Linked DNA regions of Homo sapiens: region 1 is linked to region 2. The links are contacts of gene promoters, found by promoter capture Hi-C in human tissues and cell types (Jung and others, 2019). All regions are on one chromosome and are shown on one strand. Each heading gives the region's core, a stretch centred on a gene start or on the middle of the fragment in contact. The rest is flanking DNA. Distances are from core to core; before and after follow the strand shown.

Region 1 (4,530 bases), core at 1,093-3,592, 550 kb before region 2:
TCAAGATAACACAAAGAAGGAATTCAGAAGACAAATTTAACAAGGAGATTAAAATAATTAAAAAGAATCAAGGGGAAAATCTGGAGCTGAAAAACTCAATTGGCATACTGAAGAATGCATCAGAGTCCTTTAGTGGCAGAATTGATCAAGCAGAAGAAAGAAGTAGTGAGCTTGAAGGCAGCCTATTTGAAAATACAGTCAGAGGAGACATAAGAAAGAATAAAAAACCATGAATCACACCTACAGTATCTAGAAAATAGCCTCAAAAGGCAAATCTAAGAGTTATTGGCCTTAAAGAGGAGGTAGATAAAGAGGTAGGATTAGAAAGTTTATTCAAAGGGAAAATAACTGGCCAGGCATGGTGGCTTACGCCTGCAATCCTAGCACTTTGGGAGGCCAAGGCATTTGGATCACTTGAGGTCAGGAGTTCAAGACCAGCCTGGCCAACATGGTGAAACCCCATCTCTACTAAAAATACAAAAATTAGCTTAGCGTGGTGGCGTGTTTCCATAATCCCAGCTACTTGGGAGGCTGAGGCATGAGAATCGCTTGACCCCAGGAGGAGGAAGTTGCAGAGAGCTGAGATTGCACCACTGCACTCCAGCCTGGGCAACAGAGCAAGACTCCATCAAAACAAATAAACAAACAAACAAAACAAAGGGAAAATAACAGAGAATATACCAAACCTAGAGAAACATATCAATATCCAAGTACAGGAAGGTTATGGAACACATCTTAAACCAAGAAGATTTAACCCAAGAAAGACTACTTCAAGGAATTTAATTAGTAAACTCCAAAAGGTCAAAGATAAAGAAATGAGCCTAAAAGTAGCAAGAGAAAAGAAACAAATCACATACAATGGAGCTCCAATACATCTGGCAGCAGAGTTTTCAGTGGAAACTTTATGGGCCTGGAAAGAGTGGTATGACATATTTAATATGCTGAAGGAGAAAAAACACTTTTAATCTAGAATAGTATGTCCAGTGAAAATATCTTTCAAACATGAAGGAGAATAAAGACTTTCCCAAATGAACAAAGGCTGAGGGATTTCATCAGTACCATACCTGTCCTACAAGAAATGCTAAAGGGAATACTTCAGTCAGCAAGAAAAGAACATTACCGAGCAATAAAAAATCACTGGAAGTTACAAAACACACTGGCAATAGTAAGTACACAGAAAAACACAGAGTATTATAACACTGTAACTGTGGTGTATAAACTATTCTTACCCTAAGTAGAAAGACTAAATAATGAACCAGTCAAAAATAATGACTACAACAACTTTTCAAGACATAATCAGTACAATAAGATATAAATAGAAACAACAAAAAGTTAAAAAGTGGGGGGGATGAAGTTAAGGCATATAGTTATTAGTTTTCTTTTTGCTGGTTTGTGTGCTTATGCAAATAATGCTAAGTTGTTATCACATTAAGACAACAGGTTATAAGATAATCTTTGCAAGCCTCATGGTAACATCAAAGCAAAAAGCATATAAGGGATGCACAAAAAATAAAAAGCAAGAAACTAAATCACATCACCAGAGAAAATCACCTTCACTAGAGGAAGACAGGAGGGAAAGAAAAAAGGAAGAAAAGACCACAAAACAACTAGAAAACAAAGAATAAAATGACAGGAGTAAGTCCTTACTTATCAATAATAACATTGAATGCAAATGGACCAAACTCTGCAATCAAAACACGCAGACCAACTAAATGGATGAAAAAACAAGACCCATTGATTTGTTGCCTGCAAGACACACTTCACCTATGAAGACACACACAGACTGAAAAGAAAGGGATGGAAAAAGATATTCCATGCCAATGGCAACCAAAAAAGAGCAGGAGTCACTATACTTATATCAGACAAAATAGATTTCAAGATAAAAACAACAAGAAGAGACAAAGGTCACTCTATAATGATAAGGGAGTCAATTCAGGAAGAGGGTATAATAATTTTAAATACACATGCACCCGGTCAGGCACAGTGGCTCACACCTTTGTGAGGCACACACTTTGGGAGGCTGAGGTGGGCAAATCACCTGAGGTCAGGAGATCGAGACCAGCCTGGCCAACATGGTGAAAACCCCTCTCTACCAAAAATACAAAAATTAGCTGGGTGTGGTGGCATGTGCCTGTAATCCCAGCTACTTGGGAGGCTGAGAAAGGAGAATCACTTGAACCCAGGAGGTGGAGGTTGCAGTGAGCCAAGATTGCACCACTGCACTCTAGCCTAGGTGACAGAGCAAGACTCCAACTAAAAAAAAAAAAAAATATATATATATATACACACACACACACACACACACACACACATACACACACACACACACATACACACACACACCCAATACTGGAGCACCTGGATATGTAAAGGAACTATTATCAGAGCCAAAAAGAGAGATAGGTCCCAATACAATAATAGCTGGATACTTCAACATCCCCCTTTCAGCATTGGGTAGATTTTCCAGACAGAAAATCAACAAAGAAACATCAGACTTAATCTGCACTATAGACTAAATGGATCTAATAGATATTTACAGAGCATTTCATGTAAGAGCTGCAGAATACATATTCTTTTCCTCAACACATGGATCATTCTCAAGTATAGACCATTTGCGAGGTCACAAGACAGTCTTAAAACATTCAAAAAATTGAAGTAATATCAAGCTTCTTCTCTAGAAAAACTAGAAATCAATGACAAGAGGAATCTTGGAAACTATAAAAAAGAAACATGGAAATTAAGCAATATACTCCTGAATGACCAGTCAATAAAGAAATCAAGAAGGAAATTTAAAAATTTCATGAAACAAATGATAATGGAAGCACAACATACCAAAACTTACGGGATACAGCAGTTCTAAGAGGGAATTTTATCGTTATAAGTGCCTACATCCAAAAAGAGAAAACTTCAAACAAACAACCTAACAATGCATATTAAAAACAAGAAAATCAAGAGCAAACTAAACCCAAAATTAGAAGAAAAGAAATAATAAAGATCAGAGCAGAAGTAAATGAAATTAAAATGAAAAAACAATACAAAAATCAATGAAACAAAAAGTTGGTTTCTTGAAAAGTTAAACAAAATTGACAAACCTTTAGCCAGACTAAGAAAAAAAGAGAGAAGATCCAAATAAATAAAATCAGAAATGAAAAAGGAGACATTACACTGATATTGCAGAAATTCAAATGATTATTAGTGGCTATGATGAGCAACTATATGCCTATAAATTGGAAAATCTAAAAGAAATGAACAAATTCCTAGATACACACAACCTAACCGAGATTTAACCAGGAAGAAATTCAAGCCTAATGAGATCAATAACAGTAACAAGATTGAGGCTTTAATAAAAAGTCTCCCAGTAAAGAAAAGCCTGGGACCTGACAGCTTCACTGCTGAATTCTACCAAGCATTTAAAGAAGAACTAATACCAATCCTATTCAAACTGTTTCAAAAAATAGAGGAGAGGGAAATACTTCCAAACTCATTCTGTGAGACCAGAGTTACCCTGATACCAAAATCAAAGACACATTAAAAATAAATAAATAAAACTAAAGGCCAAGATTTCCGATGAATATTGATACAAAAATCCTCAACAAAATTACTAGCAAACTGAATTCAACAATACATTAAAAAGATCATTTTATCAGGACGAAGTGGGATTTATCCCTGGTATGCAAGGATGCAAGGATGGTCAACATACACAGATCAATCAGTGTGATACATCATATCAACAGAATGAAGGATAAAAACCATATGATCATTTCAATTGATGCTGAAAAAGCATTTGATAAAATTCAAAATCTTTTCATGATAAAACCCCTCAAAAAACTGCAGATAGAAAAAACATACCTCAAAAGCCATATATGACATATGTGGCTATTACGGGAAATTATATACCTATAAATTGGAAAATCTAAAAGAAATGAACAAATTCCCCCATTCAGTATGATACTAGCTGTGGGTCTGTCATATATGGCTTAATATGACAGACCCACAGCTAGTATCATACTGAATGGGGAAAAATGGAAAACCATTCCTCTAAGATCTTGTACACACCAAGGATGCACACCGTCACCACGATTATTCATCATAATACTGAAAGTTCTAGCTAGAGCAATCAGACAAAAGAAAGATATAAAGGGCATCCAAATTGGAAAGGAAGAAGTCAAATTATCCTGGTTTGAAGATGATATGATCTTTTATTTGGAAAAACCTAAAGATTCCACAAGAAAACTATTAGAACTGATAAACAAATTCAGTAAAGTCGCAGGATATAAAATCAACATACAAAAATCAGTAGCATTTCTACAGGCCAACAGTGAACAATGTGAAAAAGAAATTTAAAAAGTAATCCCATTTACAGTAGCCACACATAAAACTAAATACCTAGCAATTAACCAAAGAATTATTAAGTTAATTAGTAAAAGATCTCTCTATAAAGAAAACTATAAAATACTGAAAAGAATACCAAAAAAAAAGGAAAAATATTCCATATTCATGGATTGGAAGAATCAATGTTGTTAAAATGCC
Region 2 (4,503 bases), core at 65-2,564:
CAAGCTGGGGCACCCCCAAGGAGGAGCTGCGATCCGAAGGCAATGCCAAGCGAGAGCGGTGGCGCGTCTGTTCTTCCGGAGTCTGTAGTCTACAAATAACTCCGGCCAGCAAGGAGGTGACAGCCCCAATATACCTCCCACTCCCCTGCTATGGCCTTGCTCCGCAAGCTGTGGAGGGGCCAGCGGAGCCAGCCAGGCAGCGAGAGAGAACGAAAGACGCCCAGCTCGTTGCAGCCGCCAACCCGCCTCAGCCGCCAGTCCCTAGTCCTCAGGAGCTAGTGAGGCGCTGCAAGGCGAGGCTGGGGCCTCTAGAACACAGTTTAAGGGGTGCGCGCGGAAGTGGGAACCAGCCGGTGGCCGCTGCCCGGCGCCAGAACGTCTACCATTCAGCCCGGGCGTGCGCGGGGCGGGGAAGAGGCTGGAGTAGAGAAGCGAGCGCCCGCGAGTGCGTGGCCGGTCCGCGAGCGCGTGTGGTGTCTGCCTTGTGAGCACTGCGGGTTCGCTGGACCCCGCGGCCAGGGCCGCGCCCCGCACCGCAGCTGTCGGATTACCCACCGTTCGGTTTTCCGCTGTGGCTGAACACAGCGGCTCTGCCCTTGCCAGTCTCCATCTCACCTCGGGGATCGGCAAATGCACACATCATGGATTCTCCGGATGCTCCAACCCGCGGACTCCAATGGGCGCCCCAAGACGCCCCCAGACCCAGCGCGGCGCCCCAAGCACATGGGACCCTCTCAAGGCAACTCGCCGCGCAGTCAGCGGCCGACTAGCAGGTCCGGATGCTCCTGCGCTCTGGCGGCCTGGACTTCGCGCCCTCGCTAAGCGGGCGCGTCTGCCAGGCGCTGCTGCCACCAGCACCAGGAGCGTGTTCGGGGGCCTCCGGGAGGTGGAAACGGGATGTGGGGGTCATCCTGCCCGCTCCTGACAACTTTTTTTCCTACGTTTCCCTGCAGACCCAGAGCAGCGAGGTCACGGTGTCCGCGGCCTCAGCAGGAAGGACCCCGCGATGGTTCTTCACAATTCACCCCCGCGAACAACGCACCCGAGCCTGCGCGCACGGAGGGCTGCCGCGCGTGGAACTGAGCGGGTCCTGGGTTGGTTTGCGGCCCTCTTCCCTCCGCCCACTCACATCCCTGCCGGGTGCGTCCGCGCTCACCTGTCAGTGCGGCGGGTCCTCGGGGCCTGCGCTTTCGACGCGTGGCGCTGAGTGCGGCCGCGGCCAGAGCCGCCGGGGCTCGGCGCGGGGTCAGCGGGACCGAGAGTGACGCGGCGGCCGTGCACTGGGTCGCCCGGTCCGCGGAAGGCGCACCGAGTGCCAGGCATCGCGCCGTCTCCCGTTTAAATGCCGGCGGCAGAGCGCGGCGCCCGGGGCCGCGCCTCTCCATTGGCCAGGCGCCGCCGCCGCCGCCAGACCCGCTATCCGCCCCCTTTCCCGGTACTGCCCCCGCCCCCCGCACCCCTCCTGCTTCCCCGCGGGGTCCCCTCTCCGCCCGCCTCGCCTCTTTGTCTGCTCCCCCCGCCCGGGCCGGCTGGGAGAGGTCACCCCAGGGAACCGCGCCTGGAATGCACAGCAAATCACATTTTCCGCTCCCGTTGGAGAGGGAAGAGCGGGAGGAAATCCCCCCGGCTGGCGGCCCCTCATTCCTTCTCTGCCCCAGGTCTGGGCTTTCCCTGTCGGCCGCCCGGCATCGCCTGCGTTGGTCCCGCGCTCAGTAGCGGAGACTGCGCTGGGAAGAGCGAGATCTCCGTGGGATCGTGCCAGATTCGGCCATTCTTCCCCTCTGGAGGGAACGGGACTGCGGGATGCTCTGGTCGAGCGGCCGTCGTGGCTCCCCGGCGGCCCCGCCCGAGGCCCCCAACTTCGAGGGCGCTGACCCCGGCGCCCCCGTTAACCTGGCGGGCTCGCTGGCCGCCAGCAGGAGCCTGTCGCCAACATGACACCCTGCTCTCCTCGCCCGCCAAGGGTTCTTTCAGCCCAGATGCCGGCGGCCTCCCCTGTGAGTGTACAGAGGGGAGTCACGGGAGGAGAATAAAACTAAATGACCGTCAAAAGTCAAGGCTTCTGTTCCTAAATTATCTTAAGAGACAGAGAGAAAACAGCCACTGGGCGAGAGGGGTTTTCTGTAGCATATCAAAGACGAATAAGTCAGGAAAATAAAACGTTAGATGAGGAAGTAACTTCCCAGAAATTTAGGACAAAAACCTACCGACGTGTAAAACCAATGTCACATTCCGGATACCAAGTACATAAATAGTTTTCGAAAGATGAGCGAACACTTTCATTTGTTCTCTTAGCCTGAAAAATTGGTTCCTCAAAGAGGCCGTAAGTTTTGTGTGTTGAAGCTAAAGTCCGTGCAAAAATTAACACGTCTGCAAGATCTGCAGACCAGCTCCATCAGCCACGTCAAATGAAGACTTTGAAAAAGATTTGCTACAGAAGGAAATATGAAGGTGTCTGTATTGTCTAACGCGAAATAAACAAAACAATGAAATCCATCAAAAGATACTTACGAAACACCCGTAATTTAAGTACTTGACTAGGAAAACAAAACCAGACCAGAAAACAGCCTATTTTTTTTTTCTCTTTAGTCCGGCGTTAGGGGGAAGAAGCAAGAAACATCTACTAGATGCTGTTAGGAACGTGAAATAGATATTTTTAAATAAATGAAGCAAGAAGGACGTCTGCATTAGTATCCTTAAAATCTTAGTCCTCTCAATGTTTTGTTTGTGCAGATGGCAGTTTCTACACATGAACTCGAGGCTGCACTTTACAATTCTCAATCAGTTGTTGTTAAGTCATGCAGTGAGCCACAGTTTGTAGTTGCCTACAGAATGGGAGCATTGAACCAGCTTGAAGACCTGTCTTGCTCACGTGGGCTCCTGGAGAGATAGGTAATCAGAAATACACAAAATACTTAGGCGATGACCAGTTCAGTCGAAGCCCACCACCAAGCTGTATTGGAGCCAGCTGTTCTCCCAACGTGCAAACTGCTGTACTTCTCCCCACAAAAGGGAGCATATTTTACAAATTCATTAAGTCCTCCTCATCTAAAATAAAAGCTTTAGTCACTTCTTTTTTTCCCAAGACTTATATACTGCCCCAAATCAAATACAAAGAAGCTGAAATTACCTCCCAAAATGGAAGTGATTTTTTTTTTTTGGAGCCCTGACACTGTGGTTTTCTCTATCTCCATGTATCAAATCATGATGACTCTTCCTCATGCAGTTTCTCAGGCCATATTTTTTATAATAGAGCCCCCACCTCCTCCCCACAACACACGCCCCCTCTCTGTATCCCAAAGAGATAGAGAGGGCTATGCATCACTGCATCATTTTTCTTCATTCTCATTTCTCTCTCCCTTCTCCCTGGCATTATAGTATTTCCTGCCACTAGAATGTAAGGTTCATAAGGGCAGGGATTTTGTCTAGGTCACTTTGATTACATGAAGCACATAGAATATAGATTGTCTAACACAGCACTCAGATTCAATAAATAGTTGTGGATTGAGAATGTTGAGCACATTCCCACTAAGATTGTCAGCTGAACCAAATGCTGAGGGTATAACCATCGTGGATAGGATAAACACAGGCCCTCACCTCAAAGAATTTATAGTCTAGTATGTTTGTAAATATTTATATAGAAACACAAGTTTTTTGCCCAATATTTGTGTTTCCACAGCTCCTAACAAGTTCTTGCAAACCATTGTCCAATCAGGAGGAAGGCATAAGGATAAAAACTCCCTAGACCGCTCTAAACATGGTTACATAACTAAAACCTGCTTTTAGTAAGGGGAGAAGAAGTAGAATGACTCGATGTAGTCATGCCTAAACCATGATGCCTAAACCACGATCACTAAATGATTAATTTTATTTAATGAAAGTACTTTCAAACTACTTTGAGGTTGTGAGAAGAGTAGATTCTGCTCAGCCACTGGTTCGTAAAAGTAAAGTCCATTTCCTCTTTTTTTGCCCACCTGTGTTTGGAATGTGCTAGCCTCTCTGTAACCCCAAGAAGCTAAAAGAGGGCTACTCCCCAGGTTTGGAGAATAACTTTGAAGACCTTTAGAGAAGAGTTTTTACTTAGATCTGCAAAAGCTATTTACAGCTGTTCATCCAATTGCAGAGACTACGTATGCTGTCTTGCATAGGATTAAAAAAGAATAAAGCCCTTTACACAGTTGGAACTGACCTTGTATGCCCTTTCTAAAGAAAAAAAGTATTAACCTATAAACTTGATAATGATTAAGTAAAAACATATTTACAAGAGTCAAATACCAGTTAAATGGATCATATTCAGAATGAATTTTTCTTATAAGTTAGTAAGAAAAAAATCCCCACAAATAACCCAATAGGAAAAAAAAATTGCACATGGCCAAAGCACATGGGCAGGTAATTCACAAAAAAGAAACCTGGACAGCCAGTAAATATAAAAAGATGCAACATTACACCAGTAAATCAGAGAAATATAAACTGAAATGAGAAGATACTGTTGCTTATCTACAA

The links. The method cuts DNA at HindIII sites, captures the fragments that hold promoters and counts their contacts. A contact is called where the count stands out against the background at its distance.
Region 1: a contact is called between a fragment that was not itself captured here and the fragment with the promoter of GREM1 in region 2, in 1 of the 25 tissues and cell types used here (spleen).

What each region holds. Positions count from the first base shown.
Region 1 is chr15:33,269,724-33,274,253 of GRCh38, reverse strand. No RefSeq gene overlaps it. Among named protein-coding and RNA genes, the nearest start is that of RYR3-DT, 39 kb to the left of the region's middle. The HindIII fragment of the contact is 3,414 bases long and covers 636-4,049 here.
Region 2 is chr15:32,714,815-32,719,317 of GRCh38, reverse strand. It overlaps GREM1 (gremlin 1, DAN family BMP antagonist), which reads right to left and starts at 1,314. Exons shown (of 2, transcript NM_013372.7): 1 at 1,157-1,314. GREM1-AS1 (GREM1 antisense RNA 1) reads left to right here and starts at 453. Exons shown (of 2, transcript NR_109767.1): 1 at 453-773; 2 at 954-1,217. RefSeq lists enhancers at 14-591, 592-1,170, 1,308-1,808. The HindIII fragment of the contact is 12,229 bases long and covers 1-4,503 here.